3 separate regions of the Homo sapiens genome follow, and regions 1 and 2 are each linked to region 3. The links are contacts of gene promoters, found by promoter capture Hi-C in blood cells and fetal thymus (Javierre and others, 2016). All regions are on one chromosome and are shown on one strand. The core of a region is centred on a gene start or on the middle of the fragment in contact, and the rest is flanking DNA. Distances in the headings are between cores, read along the strand shown.

What was found. The method cuts DNA at HindIII sites, captures the fragments that hold promoters and counts their contacts. A CHiCAGO score of 5 or more calls a contact.
Region 1: the fragment with the promoter of GLOD5 here is called in contact with the fragment with the promoter of SYP-AS1 in region 3 in 2 of 17 cell types (fetal thymus and neutrophils); the score reaches 6.9 in fetal thymus.
Region 2: the fragment with the promoter of ERAS here is called in contact with the fragment with the promoter of SYP-AS1 in region 3 in 2 of 17 cell types (neutrophils and activated CD4 T cells); the score reaches 5.5 in neutrophils.

What each region holds. Positions count from the first base shown.
Region 1 is chrX:48,760,295-48,763,675 of GRCh38, reverse strand. It overlaps GLOD5 (glyoxalase domain containing 5), which reads right to left and starts at 1,929. Exons shown (of 4, transcript NM_001080489.3): 1 at 1,823-1,929. The coding sequence starts at 1,885. RefSeq lists a cis regulatory region at 1,435-2,177. The HindIII fragment of the contact is 2,551 bases long and covers 1-2,058 here.
Region 2 is chrX:48,825,159-48,828,855 of GRCh38, reverse strand. ERAS (ES cell expressed Ras) reads right to left here and starts at 2,343. Exons shown (of 2, transcript NM_181532.3): 1 at 2,307-2,343. RefSeq lists a silencer at 2,476-2,525. The HindIII fragment of the contact is 5,532 bases long and covers 1-3,697 here.
Region 3 is chrX:49,197,496-49,201,249 of GRCh38, reverse strand. SYP-AS1 (SYP antisense RNA 1) reads right to left here and starts at 2,411. Exons shown (of 2, transcript NR_046649.1): 1 at 2,026-2,411. It overlaps SYP (synaptophysin), which reads left to right and starts at 1,057. Exons shown (of 7, transcript NM_003179.3): 1 at 1,057-1,099; 2 at 2,217-2,282; 3 at 3,411-3,535. The coding sequence starts at 1,064. RefSeq lists silencers at 865-1,104, 1,175-1,224. The HindIII fragment of the contact is 12,908 bases long and covers 1-3,754 here.

The DNA.
Region 1 (3,381 bases), core at 680-3,179, 440 kb after region 3:
TGTTGCCCAGCCTGGAGCATGGTGGCATGATCACAGCTCACTGCAGCCTCAACCTCCTGGACTCAAGCAATCCTCCTACTTCAGCCTCCCTAGTAGCTGGGATTACAGGTGTGTGCCACCATGCCCAACTATTTTTTGTTTTCTTTTTTCTTTTTTTTTGTAGAGGTGAGGGCTCACTATGTTTCCCAGGCTGGTCTTGAATTCCTGGGCTCAAGCAATCCTCCCTCCTCAGCCTCCCAGAGTGTTGGGGTTACAGGCATGAGCCACTGCACCCAGCCCTTATTAACCTTCTAACATCTGTAGAATCTGTCACAATACCCTGTTTATATTCCTGATATTGGCAATCCATATATTTTCTTAATTTCTCGAGAGAAAATAGACATTGCTAGTATTTTATTAATCTGTTCAAAGAATCAACTTTTAACATTGTTGGCTTTATTGTATCTTTGCTTTCTATTTCACCAGTTTCTGCTGTTATAATTTCCTTCCTTCTACTTTCTTAGGTTCCACTTGCCATTCTTTTCCCAGTTTCTTGATAGGGAAGCTCAGGTCATTGATTTTCAACTTTTCTACTTTTCTGATCTGTGCATTTAGAACTATAGATTTCCTCTAAGCACTGCTTTGGCCACATCTGCATCATTTTGATAGTCTGTTAGAAATAAACTCCACCTATTCCTCCCATTATTCTATTCTTCCCTGCCAGCTTAGATTCACTCCCCAGATCCTGCTTTGCAGACTCGGAGCTCCATCCTTGCAAATTCAAGGACGAGCAGGGATGGCTGTCTTCAATAACAGGAAGGCCAGCGTAGCTCAGAACCCAAGAGTGAGTGAGAGATAAGTGGGAGGGCAAGGCAGGGTCTGGATCCTGCAGACTCTTGGAGGTGAAGTTACAAAGCCTGCTTTATAAAATGATGATCAAGACATAGTCATCACACAAAGGACTGGGTGCAGTGGCTCACGTCTGTAATCCTAGCACTTTGGGAGGCCAAGGTGGGTGGATTACATGAGGTCAGGAGTTTGAGACCAGCCTGGCCTACATGGTGAAATCCTGTCTCTATTAAAAATACAAAAATTAGCTGGGCATGGTGACGTGCACCTGTAATCCCCTACTCGGGAGGCTGAGGCAGGAGAATCGCTTGAACCTGGGAGGCAGAGGTTGCAGTGACCTGAGATTGCACCACTGCACTCCACCCTGGGCGACAAGAGCAAACCTCGGTCTCAAAAAAAAAAAAAAAAAAAGACATAGTAATCACACAAGGCTTACTGTGTGCCAAGCCCCGTTTTACACACTCTACAAAAATATAATCCATTTTATTTCTCACCACAGCATATAAAATCCCTATAGTCAGAGTGCCCGGAACACCATGTCCTTCCTCCTTTGGCCTCCTCTACAGGGAAGTGTTCTGTCTTCCTACAGGGTCCTCTTCAAGGTCCCCTTCAGGTTGCCAGGGGCCTCTGAATTCCTCTCCTAAAGCTCAAGGTCAGCGCTGTGTTTCCTAGCCTCTCTCCACATGGCCTTAATCATGACAGCTTTGGGGGCACCCTGCGTGAGCCACCTTTGTATCTCTCCACCTGTCCCTGGCTAAACTGGGGGAGGAGCCAGCCCTCAGCCCCGGCCCAGCCCTGCACACCTGAGCACAGGGCCCTCCATGGCTTAGAGCCGGGCCTTTCCATGGGCCTCTGCTGCCCTCTGCTTGTCTCTGAAAGAGAAAGGGAGAGAGGAGGACAGGAAATGGGAGCCCGCAGAGAAGGGAAACAGGTTACTAGACCAGTTTCAGTGCCAACACCCTTGCCCCAGATCCCCAGGGGCCATCTTGTTCACCTGTTTCTCCAAAGTCCTGCCCCACATCTTGACTGGCAGCCTGGAGGGCAGATGGCGCAGCATGGCAGGGTAGGCGTCTTTGCCCAGGGTCCTCCCGACAATCCTCTGGCTCAGCGCCTGGAGATCAAGGGGCAGGAATGGGAGGGCACAGGCTGAGGACTGTGGGAGGTGACACAGGTAGGTAGTGCAAATGGAAGGACTTTAACATTAAATTCAGGGCCTCAAAATTGAAAGCTTAAAGTGGATGTGTGTAAGGGATTACTTCTTGTTAACACTGAAGGCTGGGTGCGGTGGTTCATGCCTGTAATCCCAGCACTTTGGGAGGACAAGGCACGTGGATCACCTGAGATCAGGATTTCGAGACCAGCCTGGACAACATGGCAAAACCCTATCTTTACTAAAAATACAAAACATTAGCCAGGCATGGTGGCGGGCGCCTGTAATCCCAGCTACTTGGGAGGCTGAGGCAGGAGAATCGCGTGAATCCGGGAGGCGGAGGTTGCAGTGAGCCGAGATGGCGCCATTGCATTTCAGCCTGGGTGACAGAGCAAGACTCCATCTCAATAATAATAATACTGAAAAACCACCAAGTATTAAGGGGATCTTTATTCTAGCGTGTGATGCCTCTGGTCTACTTAGGGGTATGTCTCCAAAGTGTGAGATCTGTGAGCTGTTTGAGAGTGTGTGTCAGGGGTATGAAGTTGTGAGCTATCTGAGTTAGAGTATGACTGCTCTGACCCATTAGGTGTCTGTTTCCAAGCCAAGATCCCTGAACTCTTAAGAGTTCTGAGCCCCTTGGTCAAGCACGGTGGCTCACGCCTGTAATCCCAGCACTTTGGGAGGCCAAGGTGGACGGATTACTTGAGGCTGGGAGTTCGAGACCAGCCTGGCCAACATGGTAAAGCTCCATCTCTACTAAAAATACAAAAATTACCCAGGCATGGTGGTGTGCACCTGTAGTCCCAGCTATTCAGGAGCCTGAGGCAGGAGAATAGTTTGAACCCGGGAGGCGGAGGTTGCAGTGAGCCGAGATCGCGCCATTGCACTCCAGCCTGGGTGACAGAGTGAGACTCTGTTTAAAAAAAAAAAAGTTCTGAGCCCCAGGGTGTGATGTTCCTGAATTATTTTGGGGGATGAGTTTTGGGGGATGAGATTTGCAGTCTTCCTCCTCCTCCCCACTCACCCTTCACTCACCCTCACCTTCCGCTGCTGAGAGTCAGAGAACATTCATCAGCCCAGTTGCTGTTCACTTTACCCTGAGCAGAACTCCCCCATCTCCCTTACAGGTTACTTGTCTGGCCCCTGGAGCATGTGAGTTTGAGATTTTTGTTTCTAGTTACCCCCAACACAAACACTTTGTGTTGTGGATATTGTTTTGTTTTTGTTTTTTTTTGAGACAGTGTCTCACTTTGTCACCCATGCTGGAGCCCACTGGCGCCATGATGGCTCAGTGCAGCCTCAAACTCCTGGGCTCAAGGGATCCTCCTGCCTCAGCCTCCTGGGTAGCTGGGACTACAGGTGTGTGTCACCACGCCTGGCTAATTTTTGTATTTTTAGTA
Region 2 (3,697 bases), core at 1,094-3,593, 370 kb after region 3:
AGGCTGGATTTCCCAAACAGCTTTATTGAGATGTAATTTACATCCCATCAAGTTCAGCCAGCTAGTGTCCAATTTAACGGGTTTTAGCATATTCACGAAGTTGTGCAACTATCACCATAAGTAAATTTTAGAACATTTTCCTCACCCAGAAAAGAATCCCCATGCCCATTAGCAGTTCCTCCCCATGACAGAGGGAGGGCAGGATTTTGCCGGTTTTGGTCACCATTGAACCCTAGCCCAGCACAGTGCCTGCCAGACAGTAGGGACCCAACATTCCCACCCCCAGAAGGTTTATGTTCTAAAAGGCAGAGGCAGATAATATAATAAACCAAATAAATATGTAAATCACGTGGTCTGTTAGCCATTATCATTAGAATGTAGTCTTTATTAATTATTCAACATACATTTATTGGGAACCTACTGTGTGGCAAGGACATGGAGTTGGGCAATAAATAGACAACAAACTGTAGCCCTCATGAAGGTTATATTCTGGTCGGGGTGAGAGACAACAAACTAGGTTAAAAAGGGGGCGGGGCACAATGGCTCACGCCTGTAATCCCAGCACTTTGGAGGCCGAGTCGGGTGGATCACCTGAGGTCAGGAGTTCGAGACCAGCCTGCCCAACATTGCGAAACCCTGTCTCTAATAAAAACACAAAAAAATTAGCCAGGAGTGGTGGTGGACGCCTGTAATCCCAGCTACTCGGGAGGCTGAGGCAGAAGAATCGCTTGAACCCGGGAGGCGGAGGTTGCAGTGAGCTGAGATCACACCACTTGCACTCCAGCCTGGGAGATAAGAGCAAAACTCCGTCTCAAAAAAAAAAAAAAAAAAAAAGTGAACTATATGTCAGTAGCGGGTGATAAGCATGCAGAAGGTGCTCAGTTCATGCCAGGCTTTTAAATTATAATTTAATCTCCATTCATTAATTCAAGAATCTTCCTTCGTGCCAGGCATTGTGATATGGCAGTTAACAAAACAGACCCCAGTCCCTGCCCTTGTGAGGATTGGATTCTGGCAGAGAGAAAGAGACAGTAACAAGATAAGGAACAAGGAAGTTGCATGTTCGAAGAGGATGGGCACACGGCAGGTGGTCAATTAGTGTTAGTTATTAGCAGCACATCCCCATTCACTCAGTGAATGCCCCTCGGTGTCCTTGGGCTCAGGAAGTGCCCTGCTTAGTGCATCCTAATGGCTGTTGCCACGACTCCCCTCCGAAAGCCTGGCGCAGCGGCAGTTTGGGGGCGGATGGTGGCTTCGAGGTTTGGTGGAGCTGGAGATCCGGAGGTCGGAGTCGGGGCAAGGTCCCAAATGGGGATGCGGCCGCGGCGTCCTCAGCTCTGAGGGATCCCTGGGAATAGTCACTGGCGGCGTTGGCCCAGAAGGAGCGGGGGCGGGATAAAGAGAGCAGGAAGCGGAGGACGGAGCTTGGGGGTCCCCGACGGTTGGGGACAGGAAGAAGACCTGGAGGACTGCGGGGAGGGGCGAGGCGGCGGCGCACGTGGAGGGAGAGGTCGGCTTCTGGGGGTCCTGTAGGGGTGCCCGGCCATCTTTAGGGATGGGTCAGAAGGCAGAGGCGGGGTCGAGGCTGCCTCTTAAGTCGGGGTCTGAGCGGCTGGAGTCTGGGGGCGCCGACGGTGAGGAAGGAAAAGCCCGGGGCCTGGCCGAGTGGCGGAGCGCAGCTTCCACCCCAGGTGCCTGGCGGGACGGGGCCACACTCGCCCAGTCCCCGCGACGCGCAGGGAGGCCGCGGCCCTGGTCCCCAAGGCTCCGCTCCCGGGAGGAGCCCGAGGCGCAGAGGCACGTGCCGAGGGCACTGGCCCGGGGCCTCAGCCCGCGGGAGGCGCCGGAGATTGGGGGCTCGGTCCTCTCAAGTGGCGCGGAGCCCCCGGCGGGTCCCCGTGGCCGCGCGCTCAGAGCCGCTGGGACCAGGTTGGGGGGCTTCGCCCAGCTCACCAAGGCTGGCGCGCTAAGGGGCCGGGACCTGGGGTTAGGGCGGCCTCGCCAGGTCGTGCTTTCCCGGACGAGGCCGGGTGAGGTGCAAAGCTCGGAGTGCGGAAGGGTCCCCGAAACCAGGACTCCACTTCGGGCTCGGTGTGAGCAGCGTCGCCCGGGCATCCTGTCAAGACCCATCCCGACTCCGGGTGAGGCGGCCCCGCTTCCAGCCAAGCGCCGACACCCCTCCCGGCCGGCCGAGTGAGGGGCCGCTCGCCCGGGAGAAGGCTTGGCGCTTGGGGGACGATCCCCCAAAGCCGGCGCGGGGATACCCCCAGGCCTGGCAGGGCCAGGGGCACCGGCGCCTCGCTCACCTGTGTCCGTGGGGAGGCGGGCGCGCTGGGACGCTCTGACAGGCCTGGCGGGGGGCGACGCTGCTCCCCGGGGCACCCCGGCGGCGGTTGGGGGAGTGGACATGCGCAGCCGCCCTCCCTCGGCTCCTCAGGCCGCCCACCCCCCTGCGCCGCGCCCCTGCCCCTGCCACTGCCCCGCCCCTGCCCGTGCCATTGCCCCGGGGGAGCAAGGGGTCGTGCCCCCCCAGGCGGCTTGCGCACAGGCACGTGGGTGCCACAGCGGCCTCTAGGGGTGCACGGACGGCGGCCAAACCTCCCCGTGTGTCCCCTGTGGCGCCTCTCCCTTGCTTTCCTGTTGGTGGTGTGTGTGTGTGGGAGAGTTGGGTGTTAGATTTTGACCAGGATGGCCTGACTTTGGGAACGGTTTTGTGGGAAGCTCTTTCAGGCCACAGAGCCTGTGCTGCCTCAACTCGGTTTTTTGGTAGCTCTGGAGAAAAGACAGTGACAGAGGAGGGGTCATTCTGTCAGGGAAGAAAGACCCTGATTGGAGGCGGCTGCCTGTCAAACTACACATTTCCCAGGCTCCCTTGCAGCTATGGCAACCACATGCACAGTCCTGATCAATGAGAGGGCAGCAGAGGTGGGGCATCCAGAGGGCTCTTAAAACAGGGCAGCCCCTGGCCCGGGAGTGGTGGCTCACACCCATAATCCCAGCACTTTGGGAGACCAAGGCCAGCGGATCACCAGGTCAGGAGTTTGAGACCAGCCTGCCCAATATGGCAAAACCCCGTCTCTACTAAAAATACAAAAATTAGCCAGGTGTGGTGGTAGGCACCTGTAATCCCAGCTACTCAGGAGGTTGAGGAAGGAGAATCACTTGAACCTGGGAGGCAGAGGCTGCAATGAGCCGAGATCGTGCCACTGCACTCCAGCCTGGGTGACAAGAGCAAGACTCCATCTCAAAAAACAAAACAAAACAAGAACGGGGCAGCCCCGGCCCTTCCCCATCCCTCCTCTTCTTGACTCAGTAAGGCTGTGGTGGTCAGCTTGGGATCATAAGGTGGCCATGAAGAAAAGTCCTGGAAACCTCAGATCCAACTCCCTTGAGCTGCCAAAGCAATTCTCACCACGTGGGAGAAATTCAGCTCTCAGACTGTCCTCCAATTTCCCACCTGTGGTCAATGGCAGGCACCCCTTCTGCCAAGAAGCTACCATGACCACCACATTCAAGTTAAACCTGGACCTCCCACCATCCCCAGTCAGGCCAATGAGACAGTGGGGAAACAGGCCTGGTAAGGATACTTCCTGCTAGTTTTCTTGCCTTCTCAGCCTAGGGTGTGGGTGTGGCTGGGACTGGCTGTGAGGCTCCTATTTATAAGGCAAGCACCCATTTTCTCATGGATTCTACCATT
Region 3 (3,754 bases), core at 1,162-3,661:
GTATCTCAGTATTTTTGTTTGCTTGTTTGTTTTTGAGATGGAGTCTCGCTCTGTTGCCCAGGCTGGAGTGCAGTGGTGCAATCTCGCCTCAGTGCAACCTCCGCCTCCTGGGTTCAAGCAATTCTCCTGCCTCAGCCTCCCAAGTGGCTGGGATTACAGGCGCCTGCCACCACAGCCAGCTAATTTTTGTATTTTTAATAGAGATGGGGTTTCACTATGTTGGCCAGGCTAGTCTCAAACTCCTGACTTCAAGTGATCCACTGTCCACTTCGGCCTCCCAAAGTGCTGGGATTACAGGCATGAGCCACTGCGCCTGGCCGAAGTTGAGCATCTTAAGCCCCAACTGTATTTTGGATTTTGCATCATAGCCATCACTGTTGACCTTGATGGGCCTAGTTTTAGTCGCAGGAAGGAGGGTTATTCCAATTAAGAGAGAGCTAAGGAATAAATAGGTAAAGTGGTAGAGTTCGAGTAGGCATTAATTTGACAAAGAGGAAGAAAGAAATAAGGGAGATGGCTAGATGGGGGCAGGAGTTTCAGGGTGTGCTTAAAATGCAGACTATGAAAAAGGAACCTGGAAGGCCTTGAACCGTGTTTAAACTGCAGGGACTCTGGGCACTGCCAGCTAGTAGCTGGCTGACCTTGTGAGAGTCACTTAAGCTCTCTGGGGAATTATTTTCCTCGTCTGTAAAAACGGCCTAATAGTCCCTACAACGTAGGACTTCTGTAAGCATTAAATGAGTGAACATGTTTAACAAACTCAGAAAAGAGCCTGGCAAAGTTGTCACACTGTAGGACCGAGCAGGGAGGTCTCCTCTCCCCGGCCCTCGACTTGTGTTTTCCCAACGCATATTCCCGCACGCTCTCACGGCTCCAGCCTCCGGGCCGGAATGGCTGCCGGTGAGACTGTGGTACAACCCGCTGTGCGCAGGCGCGTGGCGGGCAAGGAGGGGGCGCGAGGGGCGGGGCTGCAGCCGCCTGGGCTGTTCCAACGAGCGCGCGCCGCCCCCGCCGCGCCCCGCGCCGCCCTTGCTAGCCGAGCCTCCCGCCCCCTGCATTGCTGATGCTGCTGCTGGCGGACATGGACGTGGTGAATCAGGTACGCGCTCCAGCACCGTGGACAGAGCCCGCCGCCGCCCGGCTGCCTAGGCCGGGTCGCTCAGGCCAGCCGACTCTGGGAGGTGGTGGCCAGGGTCTGGCAGCGGAGACCCGGTCCCCGGCGCTGGGGATGGGGGTCTGCGGCAGGTGAAGGGGAGGAAGGGGGAGGTGGAGAAAAGGAGTGCGCTCTTTGCCGCAGCGAGGGCCGTCCTCACTGCCGCAGCGGGGGCCCCCGGAGCCCCGTTTATTACTGGCGACCGCGAGGGGAGGAATAGGGGCCTGGGGGCTGGAGTGAGGGCAAGGGACAAGGGGAGGGGAGAGTGGAAGGAAGATGGGGGGTGCTGCGGATAAGCTAGGAAATAGAGCGACAGAAGGTGTGGGGGCGGGGATGGGGGAGAGGGCTGGCACCCGCCCCTCCCAAACAGAGACTGTACCCCCATAGGCGACCACCCCTTCCCCCAGAGCACACCTAGGGGACAATCCGGTTTTACTCCTTCCAAAACCCCCAGCCTCCTCACCCCCAACACATAGCGACTGAAGCCGTGTCCCAGCCCTCCCCCACCTTAATCAGTCCAGACCCTCTCCGCCATGTCTCTCGTCTTTGCCACCTCAGAAACTCACCCCCAATCAGTCCCAACCCTTCCCCATCCCCATCACCTCAAATATCTACCGCCACCGCCGTCTAACACACCTTTACCCCTGCAGACCCTTCCCCCACCTGAGCCAAACCGACTCCTGCCCCGTTATGACTCACCTTCACCATCACAACCCCCCCACCCGAATGCACCCCACTCCATCCCCATTCTCTACCCGAACCCCTTCCCCATCCGACTCGCCTTTACGTTTCAAACCTGCTCCCCCTCCTTAACTAGTCCTGACCTCATCCCCATCTCCCTCACCCCCGACTTCCTCTGCCATCTGACTCACCATCTCTTCAGACCTTCCCACCAGTCCTTGGACCCTGGGGCTCACACCATCCCCAAGGTGTCACTTTCTCCTTCTCACCCTCTCCCCGAGGTCACATGCTCCATCCCCTGGGGTCATTGATGGGCAGCCTTGCCGCTCACCTCCCTGTACCTCCAACAACCCCACCCCTTCCCCACTGTTTCTCTCCTCAGCTGGTGGCTGGGGGTCAGTTCCGGGTGGTCAAGGAGCCCCTCGGCTTTGTGAAGGTGCTGCAATGGGTGAGTGTGGTCCGGGCTGTTGGGGCAGAGTGCAGGGAGAGAGGGAGGTCATGGGGTCCAGAAGAGCAGGGGTGGAGTAGGGGCGAGTAGCCAGGGATGAGTGCGGGGGTTGTAGGGGATGGGGGAATTGGGCTCCAGGGTGAGGTTTCAGGGGTCTGAAGCCAGAAAACAGATGAGCTGTGACGTCACATAGGGCTGAGGGTACCCCCGTTGTGAAGTGGGAGACTGTGACGTCCTACCTCCTCTCTTGAAGTGAGGGAGGGGTGGGGGAGGTGGAGCCTGTAGCAGATGCTGGGTGAGAGATGCAAAGTCAGAGAAACCCAGAGACAGTGAAGGTGACAGAGAGAATGAGGGACAGGGAATGATAAAGACAGAGATGGAAATACTGAGAAAAAAAAAAGAAATATGGAGATGAGAAGAGATACAGACATAAGAGAGAAGAGACAAACAGAAACAAAGAAAAAGGAGACACAGAAAACAGATGCAAAGAGAAACAGACGCAGGGAGAGAGGCAGGAAAACAGGGTGAGGGAGAGAGAGACACAGAGAGAAAGAGACACTCAGAAAAAAGAGAAACCAACACACAGAGGCAAGAGGGAGACAGAGAGAGAACCATCCGGAGACCGAGTGAGAGACAGGACAGAGAGACAGAGACAAACAGACCAAGAAACAGAAAGACACAGACATACAGGCATACACTTACACAGACAGAGAAAAAAGAGACAAAAAGAGACATCGACAGATCAGATAGGCAGAGGCAGAGAGGATCAGAGACACAGAGAGACAAAGAGACATCTGAGAAAGACAAAGACACATAGAGAAACAGAGATACCGAGAGAAACAGAGACACAGTGAGATACACAGAGAACAACAGAGACAAACAGAGAAGAGGGAGGTCAGCATGGAAAGGCAGAGACAGAGAGAGACACAGAGAGAGAAACAGGAAGAGACAGCCATACCCTTGTAATCAGCTTGTCCTTGGTCCCGATGAGCCCTGATTAGGGGGTGGGGGTGGGGACTGCTCCATCTGCTGCTGCCTGTGCTGGGCCCCCGATCTGTCCAGAGGAGGGCACCTCCCTCCCACATGCACACAGGTTCACTGTGGCCATCCCCATCCCTGCTGCCCAAGGTCTTCGCCATCTTCGCCTTTGCCACATGCGGCAGCTACAGTGGGGAGCTCCAGCTGAGCGTGGATTGTGCCAACAAGACCGAGAGTGACCTCAGCATCGAGGTCGAGTTCGAGTACCCCTTCAGGTGTGCTCCCACCCTGGGATACCAACAGACCTGGGAGAGGAAGGGGCAGGGTGGAACCGGCCAATACCTCCCCCCGCAAGTAGCTCCTGCCCAGCTCCCACCTCGAGGCTACATCCACTGGGATCACTGAGCACCTGCCTTGTACCTGGCACTGCTCTGGACTCTAGGACTATGTGGTGAGCAAGGCAGACATAGGCTGTGGCCCTCTGGCTCTGTTCC